2 separate regions of the Homo sapiens genome follow, and region 1 is linked to region 2. The links are contacts of gene promoters, found by promoter capture Hi-C in human tissues and cell types (Jung and others, 2019). All regions are on one chromosome and are shown on one strand. Each heading gives the region's core, a stretch centred on a gene start or on the middle of the fragment in contact. The rest is flanking DNA. Distances are from core to core; before and after follow the strand shown.

Region 1 (4,871 bases), core at 2,200-4,699, 310 kb before region 2:
TGACACTCAGCCCCCATCTCCTTTACACTGGAAATGTCTCAGGTGTCAGCCCTCTCCAGGAAGCCTCCCTGACCCCAGTCCCTTGGTCGGTGCTCCCTGACCCCAGTCCCTTGGTCGGTCCATTGCCTAGGATGGAGTGCAGTGGTGCGATCTCATCTCACTGCAACCTCCGCCTCCCAGGTCCAAGCGATCCTCCTGCCTCAGCCTTCCCCGTGGCTGGGGCTGCAGGCAGGCACCACCACGCCCTGCTAATTTGTGTATTTTTAGTAGAGATGGGGTTTCACCATGTTGGCCACGCTGGTCTCAAACTCCTGACCTCAGGTGATCCACCCGCCTCAGCCTCCCAAAGTGTTGGAATTACAGGCGTGAGCCACCGGCCCCGGCATTTGGTCAGTGCTTTGATGCATGTGTCACATCAGCCTTTGTGTCACCGTCGGGGTGGCCCTGGAGGTGCACGGCTCTGCTTTCCCTCCCAGAGTCACCCTCCACAGGAATGCAGTAGCACCTGGGGCCTGGCAGCTCCTGCCCCACCCGGGACCTTGCTAGAGCTCCCCGTGGGCCTGGAGAGGACTTTCTCACAGCTGCACTGCAGCCTGGGGCTCCTCCCACTTAACCCTCCTTCCTTCCTCTTCTCCTCTGGCAAACACAAGCCCTGCGTCACGGTTGGAAGTTGGTCCCCGCCCACCCTGCATCCTCTCCCTGTATCCTGCTTGGGCATTGCGTTTCATCAATCTCTTGCTCATTTCTTCTGTCTTGACGTCTGCCTCCCAGATGACCAAAGTGACACAGGTAACGAAATGAGTCTCTCTAATGAGTTCCCTAAAGTCCTGGGCCTCCGAGGGCTGCAGGCCCTGCCTCCTCTTACTCATCGCTGACTCCAGGCACCTGGCCTAGAGCTTCACAGGGGCTCAATAGCTTCCTGTCCTGCTCAGGCAGAGAGGGGCAGGCAGGGAGGGTCTCACACTCCAGGGAAGGGTGCTGCCTTTGCAGAGTTGAAGTGGAGTGTGTAGGGGGTGGTGGGGGAGTCCTGGGAGACCGTCAGCCACTCCTTGTGCACGTGGGAAAGGGGGACCCGGACAGGACGGGAGGACGCAGGGTGTGAACAGCATCGGACCCCACAAAGCACCCCTGGCGCACAGAGGTAAGGTCTGCTGGCTCAGGTATCACTAAAAGCCACAGAGTGGCTCACCAAGCCCAACAGGGCCCAGACCAGGCGCTCAGCTCTCACTAGGTCCGATCCCCGCCTCGCCTCTGAGCTGTAGCCCTCTGTGCAGGGGGGGCGCACTCCTGCCCATGGCAGACAGACCCCTCCACTGGGACACACGGGGCCACCACAGCCCAGCGCCCTCTTTCTCCTCCAGGCAGGGTGGACTCTCCTGGGTGGAGACTGATATGGTGAGGCTTTGCGCCTCACCCAAATCTCATCTTTTTTTTTTTTCCTTTGAGACTGAGTCTGGCTCTGTCACCCAGGCTGGTGTGATCTCGGCTCACTGCAGCCTCTGCCTCTCGGGTTCAAGCGATTCTCCTGCCACAGCCTCCCACGTAGCTGGGACTACAGGCACGCACCATCACTTCTGGCTAATTTTTGTATTTTTAGTAGAGACAAGGTTTCGCCATGTTGGCCAGGCTGGTCTCGAACTCCTGACCTCAAGTGATCTGCCCACTTCGGCCTCCCAAAGTGCTGGGATTACAGGTGTGAACCACCGCACCCGGCCCCAAATCTCATCTTGAACTGTAATCCCCATAATCTCCACTGAGTCATGGGAGAGACCAAGTGGAGGTCATTGAGTCACGGGGATAGATTTCCCCCAAGCTGTTCTCGTGAGAGTGGCTGAGTTTTCAGGAGATCTGATGGTTTTACAAGGGGCTCTTCCCGCTTCACTCAGCACTTCACCCTCCTGCCACTTTATGAAGAAGGTCCTTGCTTCCTCTTCACCTTCCATCATGATTGTAAGTTTCTTGAGGCCTCCCAGCCATGCTGAACTGTGAGTCAATTCAACCTCTTTTCCTTTATAAATCACCCAGTCTCAGGCAGTTCTTTATAGCAGGGTGAAAACAGACTAATACATAGGCCTACCCCTTGGGCCACGTTACTGTTGCCAAAGATGTGAAGAGGTCCGGGTTACAGGACCATGCCCCTGGGTGGGTGTGTGGGTGGGTGTGTGGGTGGGTGTGTGCACGTGCGTGCCTGCAATGCTCCTGTGACTATGCGTGGCTGTGGTGTACGTGCGTTCGTATGTGACTCCATGGGGTACATCCGCGTGTGTATGTGTTTGTGTATGGCTTGGAAAGGCCCCACCAGAACTGGAATGGAACATGGGGAATCCCCTAGAGGAAACTGGAAGCCTCTGCTTTAAGGGTTATGATATGTTAATTCGCTGCGTTTAATCATTCTACGACGTATACATGGATCGAAGCATCACACGGTGCCCCTTAAATAGACGTAATTATTATTTGTCAATTACAGAAAGAAAGAATTGCCCTAAATTAATTAACAAATGCAGCATTTGCTAGCGAACTAGGAAATAAGGTGGAGAAAACAAGATTTAACCCTTATTTAAATCGAGACATCTTGTATTTTGAAAATGCAATCGAGTATTTTATTTTTAATAGAGATGAGGTTTCACCATGTAGACAGATTTTAAGTGTTCTCACTACAAAAAATAATAAGCATGGGAGGAATGCATATGTTAATTTGCTTGATTGAACCATTCTACAAGGTATGCGTATTTCAAAACATTGTGTTGTACATGATAAACATATCAATTGCTATTTGTCCATTTAAAGTAATATAAATAGCTGGGCACAGTGGCTCACACCTGTAATCCCAACAGTTTGAGAAGCCAAGGCAGGAGGATCACTTGAGCCCAGGAGTTCAAGATCAACCTGGGCAACAAAGTGAGACCCCCATCTCTACAAAAGTCAAAATAAAATTAGCCAGGTGTGGTGGTGAACACCTGTAGTCCCAGCCACTTGGGAGGCTGAGGTGGGTGGATCACTTGAGCCCAGGAGGTAGAGGCTGCAGTGAGCTGTGACTGCGCCACTGTACTCCACCCTGGATGACAGAGTGAGATCCTGTTTCAAAAAAATTTTTTTAATTAAAAATATAAATAGGCCAGCACAGTGGCTCACACCTGTAATCCCAGCATTTTGGGAGGCCAAGGCGGGCAGATCACTTGAGGTTAGGAGTTTGAGACAAGCCTGGCCAATATGGTGAAACCCTGTCTCTGCTGAAAATACAAAAATTAGGCTGGTCGCAGTGGCTCACACCTGTAATCTCAGCACTGTGGGAGGCCAAGGCAGGTGGATCGCCTGAAGTCAACTGTTCCAGACCAGCCTGGCCCACATGGCAAAACCCCTCCTCTACTAAAAATACAAAAATTAGCATGGTATGGTGGCACATGCCTGTAATCCTAGCTATTCAGGAGGCTGAGGCGGGAGAATCGCTTGAACACAGAAAGCAGTTAGCTGGGATTGCACCACTGCACTCCAGCCTGGGCAACAGAGCAAGATTCTGTCTCAAAAAAAAAATTTTACATGTATATACATATATATGTGTGTGTGTGTGTGTGTGTGTGTGTATATATATGAATATTTATAGGCTGGGCACAGTGGCTCACACCTTTAATCCCAGCACTTTGGGAGTCTGACGCAAGTGGATCACCTAAGCTCAGGAGTTTGAAACCAGCCTGGCCAACATGGTGAAACCCCGTCTCTACTAAAAATACAAAAATTAGCTGTGCATGGTGGTGCTTGCCTGTAATCCCAGCTACTTGGGAGGCTGAGGCAGGAGAATTGCTTGAACCCGGGAGGCGAAGATTGCAGTGAGCTGAGATCACACCACTGTACTCCAACCTGGGCAACAGAGCGAGACTCCATCTAAAAAAAAAAATATCTATCTATCTATCTATCTATATATATATATATATAGAGAGAGAGAGAGAGAGAGAGAGAGGCATTTAACAGGAAGAAAAGAACGCAAAATTGTGACCACTATGTTATAAAGGAAAATGTAGTACCCCACCCCCAGGCTGCAGGGGAGGAGGAAGCCCACATGTGCTGGATACCTGGAGATAGGTGGTGATATGGTTTGGATGTGTGTCCCTCCAAATCTCATGTTGGAATGTGATCCCCAGTGTTGGAGGCAGGGCCTGGTGGGAGGTGTTGGATCACGGCAGGCAGACCCCTCACGAGTGGCTTAGCCACATTCGCTTGGTGATGAGTGAGTTTTTGCTCAGTTTACATGAGATCTGGTTGTTTAAGAATCTGGGTTTAAGAGCTCTGGTCGTTTAAGAGTCTGGGGCCTCCCCCTTCTCTCTCTCACTCCTGCCGCCTGTACCTTCCGCCATGATTGGAAGCTTCCGGAGACCTCACTAGAAGCAGAAGGCAGCACCGCACTTCCTATACAGCCTGCAGAACTGTGAGCCAATTAAACCCCTTTTCTTTATCAATTACCCAGTCTCAGGTACTCCTTTATAGCAATGCAAGAACAAACTGGCACAGATGGCACCCAGGGAAATGGGAAGCCAACCCAGGGAATGGGAAGTCAACCTTCCACCCAGGGAAGGGCACATCTCACTAACACAGAAGGCACCTGGCAGGGGTCCAAGAAAGACGGTCCCCAAGTCTCCCATGGCCCCCATGGGAGCACGGGAGGATGTGAGGCCGGGAAATTAGTCAGGGACTGCTAGCAAGATGCAGAGAAAATGCCCTCCACAGAGAACCAGGCACCTCTGGGATAACCAGCATGGAGGGTGGGGGATGGCACATGACAATGTCCCTCCAGGAGACATCTGTGTTGGAGGGGGAACTGGAGCCTCCCCAGGGCCATAAGTTTATACCACCCCCTAGAGCATACCTGCCACGCCAGG
Region 2 (5,008 bases), core at 1,999-4,498:
AAATAAAATAAAAATAAAAGCCAGGCATGCTGGTGCACGCCTATAGTCCCAGCTCCTCGGGAGGCTGAGGTGGGAGGATCGCTTGGAGCCCAGGAGGTCGAGGCTGCAGTGAGCTATGATTGCACCACTACAGTCCAGCCTGGGCGACAGAGCAAGACCCTGTCTCAATCAAACAAACACACATAATAAACTTTCGTTTGCTTTCAGGGTCTCACCCAGGGCGCTTTGCTCTACGTGCTCCCTGTGCATAAGTACCTCTTGCCACTCTCCCACCCTTGGGCTTCGCAAACTTTTTGCCCTTCTCTTATCTAATTATAGAGCCAGCGCCTATCTACGACCTTTTATCTGTGATTCTGAATTCCACAAACTTCCGAAAGCCCTTCACAACTCATTTGAAGGCCAGACCAGTCCTAACCTCAACTCTCCGGGAGGAAAACTCTGAGCTGAGGCTATTTATAGTGCTTATTTATCCCACGGGGTGTACATGAGTGAGTTTCACTGAATAACTTCTTTTTTTTTTTTTTTTGACGGAGTCTTGCTCTGTGGCCCAGGCTGGAGTGCAGTGGTGCGATCTCCGCTCACTGCAACCTTTGCCTCCTGGGTTCAAGCGATTCTCCTGCCTCAGCTACCCGAGTAGCTGGGACTACAGGTGCGTGCCACCACGCCCAGCTAATTTTTGTATTTTTAGTAGAGACGGGTTTCACCACCTTGACAAGGATGGTCTCGCTCTCTTGATCTCGTGATCCGCCCGCCTCCACCTCCCAAAGTGCTGGGATTACAGGCGTGAGCCACTGCACCCGGCCCTGAATAACTATTAATACGTTTAATTATGGGGTGTGTGTCACACTCTGCTGTAATCTCATATTTAATGTACATGTGCCATGTCACATTTCTAAAATCTGAACAGTTCTGAATTCTGAAAAAACATTTGTCCCCAAAAGTTTGAGATAAGAAATTGTGGACCTGGGCCAGGCACGATGGTGGCTCACGCCTGTAATCCCAGCACTTTGGGAGTCTAGGGTGGGTGGATCACTTGAGGTCAGGAGTTTGAGACCAGCCTGACCAATATGGTGAAACTCTGTCTCTACTAAAAATACAAAAATTAGCCAGGGGTCGTGGGTGCCTGTAGTCTCAGCTACTCAGGAGGCTGAGACAGGAGAATTGCTTGAACCTGGGAGGTGGAGGTTGCAGTGAGCTGAGATCACACCACTGCACTCCAGCCTGGACATCAGAGCGAGACTCCACCTCAAAAAAAAAAAAAATTGTGGACCTGTGCAATACAATATTCAAATCTGGAGCCAGACTGCTTGGGTTCAAATCCAAACTGTGCCAATCCAGTAGCTGTAAGGCCTTATGAGTTAGCCTCTCTGTGCCTCATTTTCCTCATCTGATGGGCTGGTAGTGGTACTCTCCTACCGTTGCTGTAGAATCATACAAGTTTACAGTAAGTGAAGCACTTAGCACAGTGCTGTTGTTGAGTTTTCTTTACTCCACAATTACCTAACTGGGTGAATGTTAGTATCTCATTTCACAATGAGGAACCAAATTTCAGGGAAGATAACTGTGCATTTCAAACTTTTTCACACATGTAGTTCTAAGGATGTACGTGTGTGTGTGTGTGCAGGGGGCATGCAAGCGTCAGGGAAGTTGCTTTTCCAAGGTTACCCAGCACGGCTGGGCGCGTTGGCTCACGCTGGTAGTCCCAGCACTTTGGGAGGCCTAGGTGGGCGGATCACCTAAAGTCAGGAGTTCGAGACCAGCCTGGCCAACATGGTGAAACCCCGTCTCTACTAAAAATACAAAATTAGCTGGGCGTGGTGGCCCGCACCTGTAATCCCAGCTACTCGGGAGGCTGAGGCAGGAGAATCGCTTGAACCCAGGAGGTGGAGGTTGCAGTGAGTCAAGATTGAGCCATTGCACTCCAGTCTGGGCAAAAAGAGTGACACTCCGTCTCCATAAATAAATAAATAAAATAAAGGTGACCCAGCAAAGTCAGTGCTTTTAAATTTTTAAATTTTAATATCCATAGGAATTCTGCTTTGTTTCCTAAATCTGGTGTTGGCTCCCAACAATCTTGCTATAAAACAATGCTTTGGGAACATGAGCCTTGTCTATCCACTGGCTTTGAGACTCTCGAACACACAGTTAGTGTTTTGAACTCAATTTTTTGGACCTAGTTTTTCTGCCTGTTTGCTTTCTTAAAACACAGGGTCTTGCTCTGTTGCCCAGGCTGGAGTGCCGGGGCAGGATCATAGCTCACTGCAGCCTTGAACTTCTGGGCTCAAGCGATCCTCCCGCCTCAGCCTCTGGAGTAGCTGGGACCACAGGCGCATGCTACCAGGTCTGGCTGATTTTCTTTTTTTTTTTTTGAGACGGAGTCTCGCCCTGTAGCCCAGGCTGGAGTGCAGTGGCACCATCTTGGCTCACTGCAACTTCCGCCTCCCAGGTTCAAGAGATTCTCCTGCCTCAGTCTCCCGAGTACTTGGGATTACAGGCGCGCGCCTCCACGTCCGGCTAATTTTGATATCTTAGAGATACAAAAATTAGAGACGAGACGGGATTTCGCCATGTTGGCCAGGCTGGTCTCGAACTCCTGACCTCGTGATCCGCCCGCCTGGGCCTCCCAGAGCGCTGGGATTACAGGCGTGAGCCACCACGCCTGGCCTTTTTTTTTTTTTTTTTTTTTTTTTTTAAATTTTAAGAGATGGGGTCTCGCTTTGTTGCCTAGGCTGGTCTCAACTCCTGGCTTCAAGCAATCCTCCCAACTGCGCCTCCTAAAGGGCTGGAATTACAGGCATGAGCCACAGCGCGGCCGCGGAGGACTTAATTTGAGAACCTGAAGCTAAATGACCAAGGGCTTTGGTGCACGGATCAGGACGCTTCTCTCCGGCACATAGTTTTCTCGCTCCCGCCGGTGCAGACACTGGGCGCCCTGCAGGCGAAGCCCCGCCCCTCCGGACACAACCCCGCGCCTTCCTCAGAGATCCCCGCCCTCGAGACGCCCCGCCCACCCACCGGATGCTCGGCATGAACCACTAGGCGCCTGGCGGGGGTGATCTGTCGGAGCGACCGGCTTGGCGCCTGCCTGTCCCCAGCCCCTCTCAGCTTGAACTCCTTCCTTCAAGTCTGGGCCCTCGAGGCTTCCAGAGCGGCCTCCAGGGGTGCAGTCTCAGTTCCCCACGCCAGCCGTCTCCGTCCTCCGCCTCCTCCGGGCCTGGCAGGTGGCACTGTCCGGAGGCGGAGCCTTGGGCGAGGGGTGGTTGCGGCGGAGGACGCAACCGAGCGGTGAGGCGCGTGGGCCTTCGGGGGTCGAGGTCGTGGTAGTGGGGCGCGGGGAGGCCAAGACCCGGCCGAGGGGGGCGGGCGGGCCAGGGAGCAGCCCAGCCCGGGGCGTGCGCGACCTGGGCTCGCTTCCCAGCCCGACTGTGGCCGCCTGCTCTGGCGCCCCTTCTGGACTCTCGGGCCTGGCGCTCGCGGCCAAAACTGACTTCAAAGTGTGGGGAGGGTTCCTCTTCCCGGGACGCAGCCTTCCCGGGCATTGGCAGACGGTGCCCCGGTTAGACAGAGCCGCTGACCACCCCGCCCACCCCCGAGGCTGGACGCACGGATGCACACCTGGTCCTGGGAGAGACAGGCGCCCCTTCCTTTCCGCACCCCGCCGCCCCCCTCTCCCCCCCGCCGGCTTCAGATGCAGCCACCACTAATCCTGGGAGGGACAGACACACGGACAGGTGCCCCTTCCCCTCCTCACCCTCCTACTGGCTGCAGAACAGCAAATGCAGCCACCACTGACCCTGAGAGGGACAGACACACGGACAGGCGCCCCTTCCCCTCCGCACCCCCCTGCTGGCTTCAGGACGTCAAATGCAGCCACCACTTGACGCTGGGAGGGACAGAAACTTTCCAGCCCAGGCTGGCCCTGGGGCATGGGTAGACATCCCCTTGCACACATGGCTGACCCCGGAACTCAAAGATGCCCCTGACTCTGGCCCACCTGCAGCCTGGGCCAGCACCACGCTGTTGCCCCGACTGCACCAAAGACCAAGGGTGACAGACTTTGAGTTCCGGAGGCCTTGTGGTTTCAGCTAGACCCTCATCTGCCCCTTTCAGCCCCGCCACCAGCGCTCAGGGCCCCACCTAGACCAAAGCTTTGCATCCATCCCTGCAGTACAGACCTCTGGTCTGGGGATCATGGTTCTCCTGGTCTGAGATGAAAGTTCTGGGGCCCCTTCCCAGGCCTGAGCAGGCATGGTGGGCTGCTGTGACTAGAGCGAGCTGGGTCTGGAGTGGGCATTGAGGTTTGGCTCTCACATTGCCTTTGCAGGGCCTGCGGCCTCACCATGGACCCAGAATGCGCCCAGCTGCTCCCGGCTCTCTGTGCTGTTCTGGTAGATCCCAGGCAGCCGGTGGCAGATGACACCTGTTTGGAGAAGCTCCTGGACTGGTTTAAAACGGTCACTGAAGGAGGTAAGGAGGTGGTGCTGCTGTTTACTGCCTATCCAGAGACCAGACGCAGAGGCTGGGACAGGGAGCAGGGGCCAGATGGGGACTCCCCTGTCCTGGAGGAAGGGCAGAAACTGCCAATCAGATGTCTTTCCTTCACTTCCTAAGGATTATCTGTGGCAGACTGAGGGCAAGTTAAGATGAAGCCCGAGAGAATGATCTGGAGAGTTAGAGCCTGAAATTCAGCCAGTTGAGCCACGATCAGGGCACCCCAAGGTTCAGTTCTACAGAAGGCGTGAACAAACTTGTTTTATTGTTGTTCTCGTTGTATTTAGTGTGTTTAAGACATCAGATTTGTTTTCTTTCTGATTATGAAAGTAGGGGCCGGATGCAGTGGCTCATACCTGTAATCCCAGCACTTTGGGAGGCTGAGGCGAGCGGATTGCTTAAGTCCAGGAGTTCAAGACCAGCCTGGTCCAACATAGCGAGACGTCATCTCTAAAAAAAAAAAAAACAAAAATTAGCTGTGCCTGGTGGCGCACCTGTAGTCCCAGCTACTCTGGAG

The links. The method cuts DNA at HindIII sites, captures the fragments that hold promoters and counts their contacts. A contact is called where the count stands out against the background at its distance.
Region 1: a contact is called between a fragment that was not itself captured here and the fragment with the promoter of BRAT1 in region 2, in 1 of the 25 tissues and cell types used here (dorsolateral prefrontal cortex).

What each region holds. Positions count from the first base shown.
Region 1 is chr7:2,866,542-2,871,412 of GRCh38, reverse strand. No RefSeq gene overlaps it. Among named protein-coding and RNA genes, the nearest start is that of GNA12, 25 kb to the right of the region's middle. RefSeq lists silencers at 596-815, 1,763-1,967. The HindIII fragment of the contact is 5,597 bases long and covers 651-4,871 here.
Region 2 is chr7:2,553,764-2,558,771 of GRCh38, reverse strand. It overlaps BRAT1 (BRCA1 associated ATM activator 1), which reads left to right and starts at 3,248. Exons shown (of 14, transcript NM_152743.4): 1 at 3,248-3,285; 2 at 4,325-4,467. The coding sequence starts at 4,341. RefSeq lists an enhancer at 2,664-3,341 and a silencer at 3,254-3,493. The HindIII fragment of the contact is 14,393 bases long and covers 1-5,008 here.